Regions from separate parts of the Homo sapiens genome. Here region 1 is linked to region 2. Evidence: promoter capture Hi-C in human tissues and cell types (Jung and others, 2019). All regions are on one chromosome and are shown on one strand. Each heading gives the region's core, a stretch centred on a gene start or on the middle of the fragment in contact. The rest is flanking DNA. Distances are from core to core; before and after follow the strand shown.

Evidence for each region. The method cuts DNA at HindIII sites, captures the fragments that hold promoters and counts their contacts. A contact is called where the count stands out against the background at its distance.
Region 1: a contact is called between a fragment that was not itself captured here and the fragment with the promoter of SYCE3 in region 2, in 7 of the 25 tissues and cell types used here (H1 embryonic stem cells, dorsolateral prefrontal cortex, hippocampus and 4 more).

Annotation. Positions count from the first base shown.
Region 1 is chr22:50,428,095-50,433,525 of GRCh38, reverse strand. PPP6R2 (protein phosphatase 6 regulatory subunit 2) reads right to left here. Exons shown (of 24, transcript NM_001242898.2): 11 at 2,144-2,353; 12 at 1,197-1,261. Among named protein-coding and RNA genes, the nearest start is that of MIR12114, 23 kb to the right of the region's middle. The HindIII fragment of the contact is 9,141 bases long and covers 1-5,431 here.
Region 2 is chr22:50,558,414-50,564,202 of GRCh38, reverse strand. SYCE3 (synaptonemal complex central element protein 3) reads left to right here and starts at 1,284. Exons shown (of 3, transcript NM_001123225.3): 1 at 1,284-1,345. It overlaps LOC107985568 (a long non-coding RNA gene), which reads right to left and starts at 1,242. Exons shown (of 2, transcript XR_001755606.3): 1 at 636-1,242. RefSeq lists silencers at 1,183-1,592, 2,663-2,861. The HindIII fragment of the contact is 12,147 bases long and covers 1-5,789 here.

The DNA of each region.
Region 1 (5,431 bases), core at 58-2,557, 130 kb after region 2:
GGTTCACCTCCAGAGCAAATGCCCGGCCCCTGCCCAGCGTCCGCACCCCCAGCCCTCCTCCAGGTTCACCTCCAGGGCAAGTGCCCGGCCCCTGCCCAGCATCCATGCCCCCAGCCCTCCTCCAGGTTCACCTCCAGAGCAAATGCCCGGCCCCTGCCCAGCGTCCGCGCCCCCAGCCCTCCTCCAGGTTCACCTCCAGGGCAAGTGCCCGGCCCCTGCCCAGCATCCATGCCCCCGGCCCTCCTCCAGGTTCACCTCCAGAGCAAATGCCCGGCCCCTGCCCAGCGTCCGCGCCCCCTGCCCTCCTCCAGGTTCACCTCCAGAGCAAATGCCCGGCCCCTGCCCAGTGTCCGCGCCCCCTGCCCTCCTCCAGGACACTTCTGTTTGAGTAGCACCTGCCACGTGCAGCAGGCTCACCCCAACCTCACTACCAAAAGTGCCACTGAGACAGATGAGGAAACAGACACTGCTCTCACTCCATTTTACAGACAGGGAAATGGAGGCAGAAAGGCCGTGGCGTGGCCTAAGTCCCGCTGGTGGCAGCAGTGGCGCAGGAGGTGAGCCCATGCTGCCAGCTACCAAGCTCAGGCTCAGCACCCCAAGGGGAGGGTTGGGCGGGACCTCCATGCTGTACAGCCCAGCTCGGCCTCTGCTTCCCCACAGCTGCACTCAGACCCCTCCCAGCTCCCTGGAGTCCCTCCTCATATCGCCCAGAGCCAGACAGTTCCCAGCAGGACAGCAAACGGGTGGGGATGGCTCTGGGCCCACGACAATAAGCGGGACATGTGTCCTGACCAGAGGGAGCACCCATTAAGCAGAAGATGGAAAGACCAAAATAACGCGTCCCTGTGTGCGAGTGCTGACGGAGGGCCCGAGTTCCTGGGGAAGATCAGGAACGGACAGCGGACCCACAAGAGGGCAAAGCCAGGCTGGGCGGGGGCCAGAGCAGGTGCCTGGTGGGGACGGGACCGCTTCCTGTCGGCTCCCTGTGTCCCCTCCCCAAGTAGCATTTGCAGCTGTCCGCCCAGTAGAAGGGCCCCTTGCACAGCAGCCCCAGAACGTGGAGCCACGTCGCACACCCTACACTCCACCCGATCCTGCAGTCCTGCACGCAGCGTCACCAGGGCTTGGGTGAGGTGCGTCTCTGCATCCCTGACTGGCCAGGCTGGGTCCCTCCACGTCCGAGCGGCTCTTACTGCGTGTGGTCGTTGGCTTCCCAGGCCTCCAGGATCCTCTGCACCAGGCAGCACTTCTGGAACAGCTGGGGGGCGGGGCAGGGGGACAGCGTGAGTCAGGGTCTGAAGGCGGCACGCACCCCTCCACCCATCCCTGGACTGGGCAGGGCTGGCTGGCGGCCACGTCTGTGTGGACTTTGCAGGCCCTGACTGCTGCGCACGCACAGCCCCAGCCTCCGCGGTCCTCACCAAACACCAGAGGAGGGTGCGGTTCGGGGCTCATACTGCTGAGCGCCCTAAAGATGAAGCCCGAGAAAAGGACCCTCTCCCTTCTCCTCCAACTCCTGGAATTGCCCCCTGACCCCTGTCTTCCCCTGGGCCTTCTCCCCGTCTCTCCATTGCCCTCCACTTTGGCCACTCTCCTGCCCTCTTTCTCTGTGTCCGGAAGAACGACTAGGGCTGTCTGCCCTCAGCACTTTCTCTCACCTCCAGGCCCTGACACAGATCACTTCTTGTACCTGAGATGTTTTTCCTGGGCTCCACCTCACACTACGATATACCTGTGGCCTTGCTATCCGGGTGACAGTCCCTGGTTGGCCTGCATGTCCCTCAGCATCCCCTCCCCACCGTGTGGCTCCCATCACTGACACTGCTGGCTCCCTGGGCATTTATTCCCTGGGCCTCCAGCTGGAGGCCAGACTGAACTCATCTCATCCAGTGCTAACCCTTGCCAGGCCTGCACGTGGAAGGCACCAGTACCCCTGCTGAAGGCAGGTAGGAATGAGATCTGCAAGACCCACTCAAGCCCCACTGTCTACGAGCGTCTGACCAGACACCTGGGGACCCTTTTCAAAGCCCTGCCCCCGTGTCAGCTGCACAGTGAGGTCCGGCACACGTCAGCGCTGACATGGACACGGTCTGAGTGGGGCGCAGTTGGCGCTGATAAGATGGATGCTTCTTGGACTCACGTGGGTCACCATTGTGTTGTCAGGGAGGCTGGCGGCCGGCTGGGGAGTCTCCAGGCTCCGGTTCCCGTTCTCATGCGGAGGCTCCACCCTGCTCTCGGATCCGCTGGCTTCTGTCCTCTCCTCACGGGCAGCGTGGGAGAGAATAGCGGCTATGCATAGTTCCACTTGGAAGTGCAAAAAGTTATTCCAGGTGTACTTAAAGAACAAGTCCTGGGTAAACAGAGGACAGAAGACAGTTCTTAGATCGGTTTTCTCCTGCCGGCTACACCACAAAGCTGAGGGAAACCCTTCCTAAAGGTGGCGTCCTAACTCCTCACAAGTCCAGTCTCTGGGTAGCTAGGAAGGAGTTTTAAGCGTTTTCCTGAGGGTCATCTCTCTATTACGGAGCTTCTTCAAATAGCCACTGAGCACTTCTGCCTCCTGCCTGTGGGTGTCTGTTGGTCTCTGCTTCAATCTGAATCATCACCTTTCTACTTTCTGCGGGTTTATTCTTTTTTTTTTTTTTTTTTGAGACGGAGTCTTGCTTTGTCTCCCAGGCTAGAGTGCAGTGGCACGATCTCGGCTCACTGCAACCCCTGCCTCCTGGGTTCAAGTGATTCTCCTGCCTCAGCCTCCCTGGTAGCTGGGATTACAGGTGCCCACCACCATGCCCAGCTAATTTTTGTATTTTTAGTAGAGACGGGATTTTGCCATGTTGGTCAGGCTGGTCTTGAACTTCCAACCTCAGGTGATCTGCCCGCCTCCGCCTCCCAAAGTGCTGGGATGACAGGCATAAGTCACCAGGCCTGGCTTCTTTTGTCCTTCAGTTGGAAGCTCAACTCATTAATTGCAGCCTTTCTTTCCAGTCTGTCTTTAAAGGCTACATTTCCCTGTATACAATCAACTTTAACTACATTCTACACATTTTGCTAAGTAGTATTTTTATGATTCTTCAGTTCTAAGTATGTGAGAAGTTCCTTTATGATTCTGTCTTTCTCATGAATTATTGGAAGTGTGTTAGACTCTCAAGCACATGAGGATTCCACCCAGGATGGGCAGGCGTGTGCATATCGTCCACCACACAAACGTGAGACTGTGAGGGGCACATTCAGACACTCCCCAAGGGAGCCCAGACTTAACCAGCATGGGCTGAAGCCCAGAGGTGGTTCTGGCCACCTAGATACTCCCCTGGGGGACAGAGGTGGCTGAACGAGGACAGCTGCCATCTCTCACCTCCCATGTAGCTTCTTCCAGATGAGGACAGAGAGGGGGACATAGGTCTGACGCACTCGCCCCCCACTGCCGTCTCTTACATTCCAGGGCCACGGCAGCCTGTGTCCCAGACCCTCTTCTGCCTCCATGGAGAAGGAGGACTGTATGGAGAGGGGAATGGGGTGAGGTGTATATTCCACACCAGGATTCGAGCTTGGGCTCCTCGTTCCACACAGTGGGGTTGGAGCTAGAGAAAGGCAGGAGGCTCATTTGCTTCATGTTCTCCACAGAAACGTAGTCCTAAATCCTGGCTTCACCTTCTCTGCCCATGTGACCTTGAGCAACCTTGGAGGAGGCTTTCCTGTGTCACCTCATCTGTAACATGGAGTCAGACCTACCTCTCAACAAAAAGCCCGTACCAGATGGCTTTGCTGGTAAATTCTACCAAACATTTATTTTGTTGTTTGTTTTTCCTTTCCTGGCGATGAGGTCTACCAAACATTTAAAGAAGAGTTAACACTAATCCTTCTCAAACTCTTCCAAAAAACTAAGAGAGAATACTTTCTAATTCATTCTGTGAGGACAGAATTACCTCTGATACCAAAGCTGAATGAGGACACTACAAGAAAAGAAAACTACAAACCAATGTTCCTTATCAACATGGATGCAAAATACTAGCAAACCAAACTTAGCATCATATCAAAAGAATTATATACCAGGATAAAGTGGGATTTGCTCCTCAAATGCAAGGATGGATCGACGTATGAAAATCAATCAATACACCACATTAACAGGATAAAGGACGAAAGCCAAATGATCATCTCAACTCATACAAAAAAAATCTGATAAAATTCCACATACGGCCAGGTGCGGTGGCTCATGCCTGTAATCCCAACACTTTGGGAGGCCGAGGAGGGTGGATCACCTGAGGTCAGGAGTTCAAGACCAGCCTGGCCAACGTGGTGAAACCCCATCTTTACTGAAAATACAAAAATTAGCCGGGCATGGTGGCACACGCCTGTAATCCCAGCTACTTGGGAGGCTGAGGCAGGAGAATCGCCTGAGCCCAGGAGGCGGCGGTTGCCGTGAGCCAAGATCATGCCACTGCACTCCAGCCTGGGCAACAAGAGCAAAACTCTGTCTCAAAAAAAAAAAAAAATTCAACATACTTTCTTGATAGAACACTCAAACTAGGAATAGAAGGAAATATCTTCAGTATGATAAAGGCACCTATGAAAAGCCCATAGCTGACAACATATTCAATGCTGAAAGACTGAAAGCTTCTCTAAGATCAGGAGCGAGGCAAGGATGCCCACTCTCACCACTGCTATTCGGTCTTCTCTTAGCAGTCCCAGCCAGAGCAATTAGGCAAGAAAAAGAAATAAAAGGCATCCAAATGGTAAAGGCAAAAGTAAAATTATCTTTGTTCCCAAATGACATGATTTTTTTTTTTAGAATATGTATTTTTTTTTTGAGCAAGGATCTTGCTCTGTTGCCCTGGCTGAAGTACACACAGTGGCGTGATCTCGGCTCTGCAGCCCTGACCTCCCAGACTCAAGTGATCCTCCCTCTTCAGTCTCCTGAATAGCTGGGACTACAGATCTGTGCCACCACACCTGCCTAATTTTTATTCTTATTTATTTTGTAGAGACCAGGTCTCACTATGTTGCCCAGGCTGGTCTTAAACTCTTGGGTTCAAGCAATCCTCCTGTGTAGGCCTCCCAAAGTGCTGGGATTACAAACATGAGCCACCACACCTGACCTGATATGATCTTACACATAGAAAATTCTAAATATTCCAGATAAATTGCTAGAGCTAATAAATGAATTCAGCAAAGTTCTAGAATACAAAATTGACACACAAAAAAGCAGCTGCATTTCCATACACTAGCACTGAATAATCCAAAAAGGAAAGTAAGAAAACAATTTTATATATGACAGCATCCAGAAGAATTAAGTCAAGGAGATAAAAGATTTGTACACTGAAAACTACAAAACACTGCTACAAGAATTTAAAGACCTATTTAAAGTAAATGGGGCCAGGCACGGTGGCTCATGCCTATAATCCCAGCACTTTGGGAGGCCAATGTGGGCAGA
Region 2 (5,789 bases), core at 35-2,534:
ACTGCACTCCAGCCTGGGCAACAGAGCAAGACTCCGTCTCAAAAAAAAAAAAAAAGAATTATTCCCTATTCATGTTTCTCTGGGCTGCTGTAACAGAAATCGGCTCTGGGCTGTATAAGCAAATGGAAGTATGAAGAGCAGCTCACAGGTGGAAAGGGATGGCCAGAAAACCGGGTTCAACCGGGGCAGGAACCTGGCAGCTGGCGGAGGGAGTGTGGCCCAGGCAGCAGCCTCCTCAATAAACAAGCGAATGCTCACTCCTTGCCCAGAACTGTCTGGCTCAACCCCAGCCATTTTTCCTCCTCTGCAATCAGGCTGCTAAGAATCAGAATCCCTGAGAGAAAATTCAGGGGGTCTAAGGTTTGTCAGGATTCTCAAACACAAGGTGTTCAAAATCAAAGTTAACCTTCCAAGCTAGCTTCTCCCACTCTTCCACATCTCTGCCAGTGGTATCACCCCGGCCATTAGCCCCTTGCTTCTTTCTCCCTCCCTCCCACATTACCAAGCCCTGTCAAGTCGACCTTGGAATGGCTTTGACCCTGTCCACCACTCAGCCAAACAACAGCAACGGCCGGCCCCGTCGCCACCCGCCTCGGCAGCCAGAGACCTTTTAACTCTGCCACTCGCCTACTTACCACCCTTCTAGGGTGCCCACGTCCCTCTGAAAAAAAAGGCTGAGCTCAGACTGGCCTCTGGTCAGCCTCCTCCCAGCCAGAGCTTTCTGTCACTGCCCTTCTAGGTGTTGAGTGGCTCTGCTTCCAGTTCTTGCCTGGAGACCAGGAGCGCCCGGGAGGCCCCAGCACTTTCCAGCCCACATAGACCTGCGTGCACCTCTGCCTCGTCTCCCTGAGCCCGGGCTGCCTCCTCTGTAAGATACATGCCACATAATGTCCGCCACACATGATCGCTGTGACAGTGGAAATAGCTGGGCGTTCAGCGACTCATTCGACAAATGTTTACCAGCACCTTTGGTACCGGGCGCTGTCCTGGACACTGGGGACACAGCAGGCAAACGGGGCCCTGCGTATAAATCCTTAAGCTCAAGAAGGAGGTGGGGGCAAAACTGTCAGGCCGGGAAGCTCTTCATCTCCGCAGGATTCTCCCTCAACCTCAGGACGTCCCCAGCACCGCACCTGCCAGTCCCAGACTCGGACGCCGCAGACCTGTGGGAGCAGCGCGGAATGCCCCGCCCCTTTTCCCGAGGACACCCAATGAGGGCGAGAGGTCACTTCCGGGGAGGGTTCGCTAACGGAAAGGGCGGGGCATCCCTCTCGAGGAGCGGCCTTGTTCCTCAAGCGGCCGCTGGGGGCGCCAGAGCAGGACCGGAGCGCGGGCCAAGCTGGAGGTGAGCGAGGCCGCGCCCCCCTGGGCCCCGGCCCTCCCAACGCGCCCTGACGGCTGGGCTCCGCCTGACCCTGTCCTAGCGTTCGCGGTGGCACCAACCTCAAGCCAGACCCTTGACTTCGACCCAACTCCACTCACCCGACTCCACTCACTCCACACCCCATGCCCCTCCCCCGACGCCCCTCACCCCGCCTCACCCTTCACCCCTCATCGCTCACGTCACCGCTCACCCGCCTCCTCACCCAGCCTCGCCCCTCACCCCTCACCCCGCCTCACCCCTCACCCCGCCTCACCCCTCACCCCTCATCCCGCCTCACCCCTCACCCCTCATCCCGCCTCACCCCTCACCCCTCCTCACCCCGCCTCACCCGCCTCGCCCCTCACCCCTCACCCCTCCTCACCCCGCCTCACCCCTCACCCCTCACCCCGCCTCACCCCTCACCCCGCCTCACCCCTCACCCCGCCTCACCCTTCACCCCTCACCCCGCCTCACCCTTCACCCCTCACCCCGCCTCACCCCTCACCCCTCACCCCGCCTCACCCTTCACCCCTCACCCCGCCTCACCCTTCACCCCTCACCCCGCCTCACCCCTCCTTACCCCGCCTCACCCGCCTCGCCCCTCACCCCTCATCGCTCACGTCACCGTTCACCCGCCTCCTCACCCAGCCTCACCCCTCACCCCGCCTCACCCCTCACCCCGCCTCACCCCTCACCCCTCCTCACCCCGCCTCACCCCGCCTCACCCCTCCCCCGCTCCCCTCACTGCACACTCCATACCCCACTCTCCCCACCTTACATCCCTCACCTCAGTCCTTCACCCCCTTAACCTAATCTCCATGTCCTCACACCATACACTCCTGATCCTGAAGTCTGCACACCCTGGGCTTCTCATTCCGTGCAGCCTGCCCCTCTTACCCTCACACCTGCCACACCTGGGACCCCGGAGTCCACACACCACCTCACACCCCAAGTTCCCACACGCACCTCTGGCTTCCTCCACCTGCACTTCAGGACCCGCCCAGACTCTTCATAGCCCAACTCCAAGACTTCTCTCCCACATCACAGGTGCATTCCCTTCCTGTGCTGCTCTCATCCCGTACAAAAGAGCACATCTCTGCACCAAGCATCCCTCTTATCCCCTCACATTCCTTGTTCTCAGAGGGATCCCAGACTCTGTTAGAAACTCTTCGTACCAGGCAAGACACTCAGACCACAAACCAGACTCTAGGCTCTGACTCGCTCAACCCCCGTCCTTCACACCTAAAGTGATACCCAAGCCAGACCCTACACTCCCGCCCCACGCTCCCGCCCCACACTCCTCCCGCCCCACGCTCCTCCCGCCCCACACTTCCGCCACCCATCCTAAGCTCCGTTCCATTGTGCTTTGGTGCGGGCTCAGGCCTCTTTCTCCACCCGTTCCCAGTCATCCCAGGCAACCTCATTAGGCAAGAAATGCCGTGAATTCTAATCCTGTGGCTGCTTCCTCCACATCAGCTCTCACACCCTCTCCCTGGATCTCCTTTTCAGATCCATCCCTCTTCTGAGATCCAGTGCCACTCCGGCCCAGCCTCCATCCTTCTAGCAGTCTCATGCTCTATCCCCAAATCTACCTGTGGCCACCCCAACGCCCCACTTATAGAAACTACATGTCTTTTCTATGCCTCTGCTTCACCCCAACCATCAACCACCCCTTAAGCCACTCTCATACTTGTGCTCTCAGTGTCCTTACCTTGTCCATCCACTGCATGTATGTTTACGTTCCCAGGCCTTCTACACTCCATCCACTGTCTCTGTGCCGTCTTAGGGTCCTGAGGACACTGTGGCCATGTGGCCTCAGTCACATGCCTAGGTGCCCCTAGGGAGGCATGCAGCTTTGATAAAGCTTTATCGTTCTCCTCAAACCAAGAATGTCTGTTGTTACAAGAAGAAACTTTTCATTGCCATTTATTAGGGAGTTAGAGACCATCGGGCCTGAAATCCCCCCCTTGCCATCCTACCTTGACCTCTACCTACCTTATTCTATCTCTACCTCCTTACCTTCCCTTACCTTCATAGGGTGAAATGACCCCTTACTTGTCTGAGACCAGTCCCTGCACCATCAGTTGCCCTTTCTTCTGATTCTTCAGGCTTTTCTGTCCAGGTAGCTCTTTCCACACAGCCTAGAAACGAAGAATTCAAAAAACAAAAAACCTTGACTCTGTATCACCTTCTAGTTACCTCCTGTTTTTTTCTCCCCTTCCCATCTAAATCTGTACACACAATCCATTTTGTCTAATGATCCATTAATTATTTAATTCATGAAATATTTTTACTTTTATGGCTCTCCTGAAACGTCTCACCGAGTTGACCAGTGACACCCAAATCAAATATCTTGAATTTACTGAGCCCTTTTTTTCATTTTGCAGAGGGGATCTTCCAGATCTTCCTCTGTAGCCTAGTCTAGAGTGCTGTGGCACAATTGTCCCACCTCACCCTCCTGAGTAACTAGGACTGGAGGTGCGCACCACCACACCCAGCTATTTTTAAATTTTTTTGTAGAGACTGTTGCCCGGGCTGGTCTGAAACTCCTGGCTTCAAGCATTTCTCCTGCTTTAGCCTCCCAAAGCACTGGGATTCCAGGCATGAGCTACCATGCCTGGGCCTGCCATGCCCAAATACTGTAATCTTTGACACTGGTGTAATATCTCCCAACTTAAAATAAAATACCCCTGTGACTCTACATTACATTCCAGGTACTGGCATGTTTCTCTGCTTCTCTTTGAAGTAAAACTCACCAGTTTCTACTTCTCCTTCCCTCTCTTTAGAAACATTTCGATTGGGCTCTTGTTCCAGCCACTCCATGAAAACAGCTCCTGTCAAGATTGCCAGTGTGACCTCCAGATTGTCAAATCCAGTGGTTACTTTTTATTTATTTTTGTTTTTGTTTTTTTGGAACAGAGTGTTGCTCTGTCACCCAGGCTGGAGTGCAGTGGCATGATCTCGGCTCACTGCAACCTCCACCTTCTGGGTTCAAGGGATTCTTCTGCCTCAGCCTCCTGAGTAGCTGGGACTACAGGCGCCCGTCACCATGCCCAGCTAATTTTTGTATTTTTAGTAGAGATGGGGTTTTGCCATATTGGCCAGGCGGGTCTCGAACTCCTGACCTTGTGATCCCCCGCCTCTGCCTTCCAAAGTGCTGGGATTACAGGCATGACCGACTAAGCCTGGCGGCTACCTCCACTTCTAACACTCTGGTCCAAGCCTCATCATTCCTTACCTGGAGTTTTGCAGCTGCCTCCTAAATGATGTCCCTGTTCCATGCTTTCCACCCCTTAGTCTATTCTCAACACAGAAGCCAGAGTGATCCTTTTAAGTCATTATTCAAATCACATCACCTTTGTCAGATTTTTCCAGTGTTTCCTCATCTCATTCAGAATAAAAATCGAAGTTCTGGCCAGGCATAGTGGCTCACACCTGTAATCCCAGGACTTGGGAGGCCGAAGCAGGCGGATCACCTGAGGTTCAGGAGTTTGAGACCAGCCTGGCCAATATGGCGAAACCCCGTCTCTACTAAAAATACAAAAATTATCTGGGCATGGTGGCGGGCACCTGTAATCCCAGCTACTTGGAAGGCTGAGGCAGGAGAATTGCTTGAACCTGGGAGGCGGAGGTTGTGGTGAGCCGATATGACGCCACTGCACTCCAGCCTGGGCAACAGAGTGAGACTCCGTCTCAAGAAAAAAAAAAAAAGAGTGTGTAGTGAGAAGAGAAGGGGCTAAAAGGACCTTCCTTGACCCATTAGAGCCAGTAAAGGAGAGAGCCAAGAAAGAGCAGGGAAGGAACTACCACAGGTGGACAGAGTTTGGAGAGAACAAGGTTAAAACATCAAGAGAAGAGAATTTTGAGCAGGAGAAAATGGCCAAATGTCAGTGCTGCAGAGATGTTAAATAAAAGAAAGACAGAAAGTGCCCTGGGTGTGCCAGTTATGACTTTGGTGAGAGCATTGTCAGTGAATGTCAGAGACAGATGCCAGATGACAGTGGAGTGAGGAGGACAGACAAACGTGTGAGGCCTGGCTGCTAAAGGAAGGAGAGGGAATAGCTATAGGAGAGGGTTAAGGAAGGTGTTCTGGACATTTCTTCCTCCCATCACCCACTATTAGCCCCCTGCCCTGCCACCTGCCTGTACCTCCCCACTTACTCTTAGCAAACTATTCCTACTTACCAAAAAGCAGGACGGAGTCCCTGCACGTGGAATGGCTCCATGCCCACAGAAGTACCTCCTTTACAGATCCCGAAAGACCATACACCCTGACCCTGCACCCTCATTCTCAGATCTGCCTGTCAGGCCTCCTGGAGGGCCCTTTGCTCCTCCCTCAGAATCTCTACCCTTAACAGGGAGGACGGCAAGAGGGGAAAGATAATAATTTTCTTTCTTTTTTTTTTTTGAGATGAAGTTTCGCTCT